3 separate regions of the Homo sapiens genome follow, and regions 1 and 2 are each linked to region 3. The links are contacts of gene promoters, found by promoter capture Hi-C in blood cells and fetal thymus (Javierre and others, 2016). All regions are on one chromosome and are shown on one strand. The core of a region is centred on a gene start or on the middle of the fragment in contact, and the rest is flanking DNA. Distances in the headings are between cores, read along the strand shown.

Evidence for each region. The method cuts DNA at HindIII sites, captures the fragments that hold promoters and counts their contacts. A CHiCAGO score of 5 or more calls a contact.
Region 1: a fragment that was not itself captured here is called in contact with the fragment with the promoter of ACSL4 in region 3 in 1 of 17 cell types (activated CD4 T cells); the score reaches 5.0 in activated CD4 T cells.
Region 2: the fragment with the promoter of PSMD10 here is called in contact with the fragment with the promoter of ACSL4 in region 3 in 1 of 17 cell types (total B cells); the score reaches 7.4 in total B cells.

What each region holds. Positions count from the first base shown.
Region 1 is chrX:111,691,696-111,694,847 of GRCh38, reverse strand. All of the region lies in intron 3 of ALG13 (ALG13 UDP-N-acetylglucosaminyltransferase subunit), which reads right to left. Among named protein-coding and RNA genes, the nearest start is that of ALG13, 12 kb to the right of the region's middle. The HindIII fragment of the contact is 1,009 bases long and covers 1,076-2,084 here.
Region 2 is chrX:108,090,042-108,093,339 of GRCh38, reverse strand. PSMD10 (proteasome 26S subunit, non-ATPase 10) reads left to right here and starts at 1,798. Exons shown (of 5, transcript NM_002814.4): 1 at 1,798-1,933. The coding sequence starts at 1,820. It overlaps ATG4A (autophagy related 4A cysteine peptidase), which reads right to left and starts at 1,562. Exons shown (of 13, transcript NM_052936.5): 1 at 1,504-1,562. The coding sequence starts at 1,513. RefSeq lists enhancers at 1,360-1,599, 1,650-2,049. The HindIII fragment of the contact is 5,520 bases long and covers 1-3,298 here.
Region 3 is chrX:109,731,558-109,734,798 of GRCh38, reverse strand. It overlaps ACSL4 (acyl-CoA synthetase long chain family member 4), which reads left to right and starts at 1,542. Exons shown (of 16, transcript NM_001318510.2): 1 at 1,542-1,660. LOC105373311 (a long non-coding RNA gene) reads right to left here and starts at 2,288. Exons shown (of 1, transcript NR_158569.1): 1 at 1-2,288. RefSeq lists silencers at 1,280-1,589, 1,687-1,807 and enhancers at 1,930-2,069, 2,130-2,179. The HindIII fragment of the contact is 5,191 bases long and covers 1-3,184 here.

The DNA.
Region 1 (3,152 bases), core at 331-2,830, 2.0 Mb before region 3:
AAAACTGAGATCCAGAAAACTACTAATTTAGGCTAAGGACTTAGGAATGTTTTTCATTACTAAATATGGGGAGTGTATTATCCCCTCACTTCACACTGGCAGTGGAGAATTGACCAGTATGTAATGCTGCACAAAAGGAGAAATGATCATTCAAAAAGATGTACTATATGCGTCTCATAGACATCATTCCAACAGTGACTATCAGGGTCCTGCAACCAAGTACTTTAGTAGCACACTTAACCATGAGTAAACACCATATTGTATTGCCTTACTGGATTTCTTCACCAGTCTATTATAGGATATTCTAAAATAATTACTACAAATAAAAAATTCCATTTAGTCCTTATTATCTATTAGAAAAGACACTATATGACATTATGGGTTACAGATACTGAGTTAATAGCATAAGAATATTAAGGTTAGTTTCAAAAATGTATTGGCTAGTATGCTTTAAACAAAAAAAGTATTGAATTTGTGTTACATTATAAAAACTGGGAATTACTGGCCGGGAGTGGTGGCTCATGCCTGTAATCCCAGCACTTTGGGAGGCTGAGGCGGGTGGATCACGAGGTCAGGAGATCGAGACCATCCTGGCTAACATGGTGAAACCCTGTCTCTACCAAAAATACAAAAAAAATTAGCTGGGCATGGTGGTGGGCGCCTGTAGTCCCAGCTACTCCGGAGGCTGAGGCAGAAGAATGGCGTGAACCCGAGAGGCGGAGCTTGCAGTGAGCAGAGACCGCGCCACTGCACTCCAGCCTGGGCGACAGAGCGAGACTTTGTCTCAAAAAAAAAATAAATAAATAAAAATAGAAATAAAAATAAAAACTGGGAATTACTAAATTTAAATGTAATTAATCAAAAGGGTTTAATTACAAATGAGTCTAGGAATTAAGACCAAAATAGTAATAAACAATGACCAAGAAATGAAGTTACTGAAGTTCGCCTCAGCCTAGGGATTCTTAACCCGGGGCCATGAGGTCCTGCAAACTTTCTGAAAGTCACTGCAAAATCATGTATATAGAGAAGAAAAGCCACAGTTTTAAATTAAAGAGTTCCATGGCTGAAAGAAGCTTAAGAACCACTGCCTCAGAGAACAGGACTGCAGCCACCAAAATAAAATCATGTTCAAAGCTATGATACAAGTGTCAATCAAAATAAGTAATTTTGGCCAGAATATGGTAAAAAATTTATAAGACAATGAAGATATAGAAATACCAACATAGATGGTATATAATGGTATTAAAAGCCTGTCAAAATATTTTTCAAGAATCAGTATCAACATTAAGAAGCATGTATTCTGGCCGGGCACAGTGCCTCATGCCTGTAATCCCAGCACTTTAGGAGGCCGAGGTGGGTGGATCGCTTGAGGCCAGGAGTTTAAGACCAGCCTGGCCAACATGGCAAAACCCCGTCTCTACTAAAAATACAAAAATTAGCCAGATGTAGTGGTGGATACCTGTAATCCCAGCTACTCAGGAGGGTGAATCACTTGAACCTGGGAAGCGGAGGTTGCAGTGAGCGGAGATAATGCCACTGCACTCCAGCCTGGGCAACAGAGCGAGACTCCGTTAAAAAAAAAAAAAATAAATAGCATCATGTATTCTACATTCCTGTTTGAACCTAGCCAGATTTGTCTACCTTTTGTTTAGCCGCCTACCAAAAAAAAAAAAAAAAAAAAAAGAATTAAAAACTGTATAATAAATAGAGCATTCACGTAGGGAATTAGCCATTAGCCACTTAATAAGTAATTAAATATCATTTGATGACTGGGCACAGTGGCTCACGCCTGTAATCCCAGCACTTTGGGAGGCTGAGGCAGGCAGATCACTTGAGCCCAGGAGTTCAAGACCAGCCTGCGCAACATGGCAAAACCCCGTCTCTACAAAAAATTAGCCAGGTGTAGTGGCCCATGCCTGTGGTTCCAGCTACTCCAGAGGCTGAGGTGGGAGGGTCACTTGACCAGGGGAGGCAGAGGAGCCAATATCTTGCCACTGCACTCCAGCCTCGGTGACAGAGAGACCCTGTCTCAAAGGAAAAAAAAAATTGTTTGGTAATATCCTAAACCTTTCTCTATGTAAGCTTTTACTAGAAAACACTATAGTGCTTTTCATATACCTGATTTTTAACATCATGTTTTGCCACAAATCCCTGACAGGTACCATTATTTGACAGACCCTTAAATACCATTAAGATACTGCATAGAATCAGCACTGTTATATTTGGGATGCTATTCTTATATGTGCTTGATCCTACAAACTTACCATACAATATGATGGTCACATCTTCTGAACAAGAGACTTACTAGATACTTCGCTGTCAAATCAAAGTCAGTATGAAATAAATGTGTACAAGATGACAGTGTTTCCTAGAACAATACCTAATCCTAATCAAGACAATCAAAAAAGAGTACTAGGTTACAGAAGTGCATTCATCATTTATGGAAAGCCTACTGTGTTTCAGGCAAAGGACTCAAAAATGAGTAAGACATAGGTCCTTCAGAGCAGGAATCATGTCTTGGATCCTGCTGATACAAAAGGTAGATTCTCATTATGCATTTATATTAAAAGCCTGAATGATGAATACATAAGCTTGAGGTACTTAGGAAATAAAGCTGTGAGTGCTTGGAAACCAATTAGATATAAGGGGTTGGAGACAGAGTTAAAGGCTAGAAGAATGACTAAATGATGATACCATTAATAAAGATAAGCACCTCAGAAGAATGAAAAGAAATATGATTTCAGTTTGGGGCACACCTTGAGTTTGAGGTGCTTACAGAATTAACAGACAGACAGGGCCAAAGGCAATTGGAAATATCATTTAGGAGCCCAAATCAGAGTTGGGAGATACAGATAAAGGAGTCAACAGTAGAAGCTGTGGGAATGCTGAAAATTCCAAGAAAAGAAATAAAGCAAGGACCAAAATGAAACTTTAAAATACAACTAAGAAAAAAGAAAAAGATTTGTAAATAACTTGCAATCAGGTAAACCAATTGAAAGAGTTTCTCCACATGGATTCTACACATGGATTCTATGAGTAGCCATCACTGTGGTTTTTTAAGTAGCAATGTAAAAATTCAAAAAGGTTATACACCTATGGCTAGCATACCGTTACGCCTGTGGCTAACATACAATCTAAATTTCTTAGGAAAA
Region 2 (3,298 bases), core at 549-3,048, 1.6 Mb after region 3:
AAATCAGACACAAAGACTGCATATTGTATGATTTCATTTATATAAAATGTCCAGAATAGGCAAATTTATAGAAACAAAAAAGTAGATTAGTGGTTGTCTGGGGCTGGGAATGGGACAGAGGATTGATTAACTATAAATAGGCATGAGGGACCTTACTGGAGGGATCAAAAAGTTCTAAAACTGATTTATGGTGATGGTTGCCCCACTTCAGTAAAGTTACCAAAAATCATTTAATTATGCACTTGAAATCAGTGAATTTTATGATATGTAAAATGTGCCTCATTTTGAGTGAGTGTTATACAGGAACTCTACTAACCTTGCAACTTTTCTATAAATCTACAACTATTCTGAAATTTTTGAAAAATTAAATAAAAATAAAAATAAAAAAGTATATGTTTATGAATTGATATCAGTATTTGGCAGTACCTATCTATGTAAAATGACATTTTCAAAGATTAAATAGGTAAAAATTTCCTAACAGATCAGCATTAACAGATGAACACTTAAAATCAATTTTGACAATAGGGAACACTAATTCTGAGCCCCAATTAAGCAAAATATTATCCCCTAAAAAGAATTCTATTCTTCTCATTGGTAGTCTTCCTGTATTACAAAAAAAGTACTCAATTACTATTATATTTTGAATTTCATCAATAAAAATTTGTTGAAATTTGTTTTCTCTTTTGTCATAAAAGTACCAACAAAATATTCTTGATTTTGCCTTTTGGCCTACAAAGCCTAAAATATTTACTATCTGGCTCTTTACAGAAAGTTTCCCAACTCCTGTTCTACACTATAACAGGATAAACATAAACATCATGAGTCTCTTTCTTGAATGTATTCTTATCGTTACCTAGTTGTGGCATAATGTCCTCTGGATATGCCCTATAAAGGATCAGTCTTGCATTGCTTCTGCTATGGCACTATTTGGGATTTCTATAAAAAGAAACACTATTAGCTTAATAGTTGTAGCAAAGCCTTGACAACATAGTTAATATCGTGATATTAAAATGCCAACACCACAGCCCGGTATCCTTAAGATGACCCTCATCAAGCTGTGATGTCACCAGGCTATGGACTCACCGAGGTCTCTTAGATATCAGGTGGCTCCCACGGCATCACACCCTGCCTTTGGCATCACCCTGGCACATCACCTCAGTACGGTGCCATATGCTATCACTGCTGTGGTAGAACCCTGTCCTGATGCCACACCGCCGAGATGTCAGAGTAATTAACCCCCACTTCTTTCCACTCCCTAGGCGGTGGCAGGGAGGGGGAGGGTAGCCACAGTCACCGGTTCGAGCTCAGTAGGTAGTACTCAGCTCCAACCCTTGTCCCTTCCGCCTGCCACTGCAGGTCAGGAACCCCGGGGGACAGGACCTTTAGGCTCTCATAACTCTTGCCCTGCCCCCGAACCTGTTTCATATGGCCGACTCAACGACCCGCCAGCGACTACCCACCCCGGCTCTTTCACACGGTTCCACTCAAAGCCGCTCCCCGTACCTGACTCCATTCTCCAGCTGTCATCCTGGGCCAATTCCACCGGCAACTTGACTACGGACGGACGGTCGCTAGGATCCCTGGGACTTGTAGTTCTGCACTGCTAGGGGCCAAGTCTGTGAGGGCAGCAAAGGCGCCTCCCTGCCCGGAACTGCTCTCAAACTGCAACTCCCAGAGGCGCCGCGCGACGGGAAAAGAAAAGGGAACGAGGAAGGCCGGTGATTGGTGAAGCTCTAACGGCTGTTTTGACTGGCGTAGCCGGAGCCGGCGACGTGAGGCGGGCGTTGCTCGCGCGACAAGTAGTTGCTGGGACAGCGAAATGGAGGGGTGTGTGTCTAACCTAATGGTCTGCAACCTGGCCTACAGCGGGAAGCTGGAAGAGTTGAAGGAGAGTATTCTGGCCGATAAATCCCTGGCTACTAGAACTGACCAGGTAAAGCAACGCTAGGTCTCTCCGCAGTCGGCGACGTCGGCGAAGCCCTACGTGGCTTTCGGGGCCCGGCCCTAGCGGAGGCCCCGTTTCTGAGAGAAGCAGAACCCCGCCCCCGCCGCCCCAAGCAGTCCCCCTGGGTCACCTCGGGACTCGCGATAGGCCTGCGGGAGCTAGCCCCACAGACCTCAGATATTTTCCCGTTGGCCCGGAGCTCCGCTCCCTGATTTTTGGATAGTTCTAGAACGTCTACCGCATTTCTCAGAAACTCCCAATCAGTGAAAAGGAAGGCTTTTTATATGGATTTATTTACCTTTACTAGTAACTGTATTCAGTAACGCATGTGAAATTGAACGCCCCTTCCGTGCCAGGCAGTTTGCTAGGAGCTGGGGATACGGTGGAGTGGAAGATGCAGACAATAAAATAAGCACAAAAACATGTCCGATTACAAATTGTGGTAAATACTCGGCAGAGAAGTTTACATGGTGCTTTCAGAACACGTTAATAGGAGGATCTGATGCTGAATATGACTGTCGTTAATTGGAAAAGTTTTTGCAAAGAAGGGAAGGTTAGTTAGACTTTGAAGCATGAGTGGGATTTCCATGGGGGAATGAGTGGACATTCTAAGCAGAGGTAGACAGAAGTTTAGAAGTGTTTCTTTCTGCCCTCCTGCTCACAGGACTCTCGTGCTTTCATCCTCAGTTTCTAGGATTCATGGTGCCTTTAGTAAGCCCACAAATATTTATAGATGGCCTTGTGTTTCGCAGACAGTGTCGTAAGCACTAGTGAGACTGTCCCATACTTACAGATCTCCATTTTGTGTCTTTTGGGAGAGAATTAGAAATCAAGAGACTGTTTTCTCTTTTCTGGAACTTTCCTTTATTACTCAACCTGAAAATGGCCTTATCTTTACCTGGTTTACTTCATTATGGTCTGGTGATATTTAAGGATTTAAATTTAAATGTAATACTTTATATTAAGATTTAATACTCCATTGGAAATTTAACCATTCTTCAGTCAAGTCAGTGGCTTAAAAAGGGAAAGGAACTATTCAGCATCAAGAGACGTAAAAAACATGAAGAAATGCAATTTATGGATCTCGTCTGGTTCCTGATTTAAACAAACCAACTGCAAAAAGACATTTGGGAGACAGTTGGGGGCAATCTGAATACAGACCGGATATTAGACATTCTAAAGGAGTTAGTGTTAATTTTAGTAAGTGTAATAATGGTCTCATAGTTATATAAGAAATACCTTTATTTTTTACATACTGAAAGAGAAGGGTGAAAAGTCATGATATTTAGGATTTGTTTTTGGAAAGCTCAGCAAGGAAAAAACTAGTTAAAGCAAATAGGGCAAGATGTTTGT
Region 3 (3,241 bases), core at 293-2,792:
GTGTTAACCCAACTGTAGGTGATAGTGCTCTGTACATCATAGTTACCCAGTGAATTACGTACCTGACATATGATTGCTTATTTCTGGTATTAAAACAAGATTTCATAAAATAAACATGACAATTAAACTCGTTGTTTGAAGTACTGAACTTTGTAGGTCAATCTTGAAAAAGGAAGCTACATGACTGTCTTAGCAATATTTATAGGTATATTATATGTAAGTGGGTGGGTTTCTTGGAAATTGAATTGGTAATATGGCTTTAGAGTAGTAACACAAAAACTATAGCTCTGTGCTCTCAGCTAACCACTTTTAGTGTCACCTGGGCTGCTTATTAAAAATTCAAATTTCTTATCCCTACCCAGATCAGAATCAAAATACCTGGGGGTTGTAGCTCCAGGTACCTACATTTCAACAAGCACCCCAGATAATTGTGATGCACACTGAAGAACTACTCTAGCTTGTAATCTCAGGTGGTAAGGCATTTTATATATACATATATATATACACACACACAAGCACAAATGGTAATTCTATGGGAAAATGGAAATCAGCAAGTGAAGTGAAATGTCAATTACCATCAGGAACAGGAAGCTAGTTCACCATTACGCATCAGGGAACTGGAAGAATTCTTGAGATTTATTTTTTTGGGTGATATATTCTTGGCAGTTTATCAGGCCTCATTTGCAATTATGGTCTGTCCCTTTTGAAGCCCTCAGATAGTTCGCTGGCATTTTAATTTTAATAGCAATTTCTTGCATCTGTTGGAACAGCATTCGTATGACCGGCTTATAAGCAATGATCAGGGCTAGTAAGATGTCACAAAGCTGCGGTGACTTTTCCTTATCAGTTGGGGGTTTTTTTGCCATGATACCATCGTGGAAATGAAAGACAACGTGAAAATCCTGCGTCCTTGTGATATTTCATCAGTGGGAGTGAGCGGGGATCTTAACGCAGTAAGAGGCAAGATAAACGGATGAGAGGCATTAGTTCAGGCTTACAGGAGCAAGATGCTTTTAGTCAAAGTGTTCAAGATAGCTCTCTTAAAGAGGAGCAGTGAAACCCAAAAATGAGTGTCTTTTGAGGGCAGCTGGAAGATGACCCGAGGGGAACTTTTATCCTGGGGTGGAGTCCTGCGAAGCAAGCCGCAGGTGAGGGCGTGGGCCAATTCTGCGCCTCACTGCTGTTAGGCGCAAGGACATCCCGAAACACACTCAACGACACCAGCAGCGAGACTGACAGAAGCGGATCGCCAGCGGGAGCAACAACTTGAGGCGAGCCGTTAGCCGCCTCGCCTTCCTCGCAGCGCCCCTCCCGCGCCCCGGGAAGCCCGTTCGGCTCCGCCTTTTCGACTGACGTCCCGGGCGAGCGGGGGCGGGCGCGTGGGTGGGCCGAGCCGTCTGCAGCCAGCGATTCGGCTGGCTCTGCCACACCACCGCGCGCCCCCGCTCCGCCCGCCCCTCCGGGCGCGTCTTTTCCGGGCTCGCGCTGAGTCCCGCCTCCGCCGGCTGTCCGGGTGCGCGCGCGCCGCTGCGGCTTTTTCTCTGGCCTCCGCCGCGCGCTCCTCCTCGTCCCAGCGCTAGCGGGCACGCGGTTCCTTTTTGCGAGCTTTCCGAGTGCCAGGCGCCGGCCGGCTGCGAAGACGCGGTGGGCCGCCCCTCCGGTGAGTATCCCTGGATGGGGAGGTTGCGGCCCCGGCACCCCTGCCCTGTCGGTACCAGGGCCCCATTTCCAGAGGGGGACTGGCGTACCTCACCTGAGCCGGGAGGAGGTTGGGTGGGCATTCCAGCTCCTGGAGTCGGCTCGCTTTTTTCCTTGAGCCAGGGCTATCTATCCGCTCGCCTCCGCTGGGGCCGGGAAGATTCCCGAGGTCACTGTATCTGCTCCTGTGATGGACTCTGGGGTCCTCGGAACCCCAGCCTGCCTCTTCCTGCCGCTCACCGCATCCCGAGGGCCAGAAGTCATCTTCCTGATCGGGGTACTAGGCTTTGCCACGGCCCTTTCCGGAGGAGACCATGAAGTGCTTGCTAGACCTCCAAACGACCTTTAGGGTGCCCCTAAACCTCAACTCCATTTTGTCCCCTCCCAGTCGCTCTGTAACTGAGGGCTAGGGAGCCTCTCTAGCCCTAGAGGCATCCGCCCTCTCGAATTTGAGGGATGCCGTCGCTTCCGATATCTTCCTTGCTTCCGATATCTTCCTAGCTTCCGTAGGCTTAGGTTTGTTAGAAAACAGCTGGATCCTGGCGAAGCGTGCTTTCCTTCCTTCCCCCACCCCCGTTCTTTCTGTCTACATCCCTGCCTTCAGTGGGTGCTATATATTTAGTATGAGCTTTATTCACTTCCTCTTCCTCTCGTTTGAGTGCCTGAAAGAACTGTGGCTGATGTCTATAGACATAGAAAAATCTAGGAGAATATGATTCATTGTCTAACCCCATCAAGGGGTTACATATTTTAAATAAGACGTCATTTCTCCTCTTCACTCCAGCATCTCCTCCTTCAAAGGCATTTTTCACCCTCTTGAAATTAATACGCTCTATTCGCTCTTTTCACCTAAAAAAAGGTCAATCGTCGCTCTGAGAAACAACAGTGAGATGCAAAATAAGGGTAAAATGGCATTGAAATGAATCCCTTTGAAAAAGTAAGCGGTTTGCTTTATCAGTTAATGGTCTCATCAGCGCTTCAGTTTCCTCTTCTGCAAAAATCAGTCTGTTGAACTAGAGCATATCAAAGGTTCCTTCTAGTGTTTTGATTCTAGGACCTCTAAATTCATGCAGGCTGCATAATGCAAATTTAACCTGATTAAAGCCTTATTTCTCATAGTCGCTTGTCACCTTAGTTTTTCTTTTATTTTGTCTCTAACAAGAAAGACTTTTAAATGTTCTTGATACGTAAGGCAGCAGGTGGAGATTCAATGATGGTACTGCCATTGAGCATATCGGTCAAGATTTTAACAGTGTAAGGCCTCTTCCTTAAATTGTAAAATAGCTCATCTTTTGATTGAAACTGCTAAAGTGTAAGACATGTAAGACTCCTGTTAGAATTAACACTCTCTGCCATTTAGGTGGGGGATGAAACATTAAACTGTTAGTATACTTGTACCTTAGAATAAAGTACCTTATTGTCCTGCTATAAGAAATAATTTGACAACTAAAAATCCATGGAAGGTGTAATACAGCAATTGAAAGCTTGAGTAAATTCAATTTTGTGGGTTTTTTTTTTTTTTTGGAAAACCCCCTATTTAAAA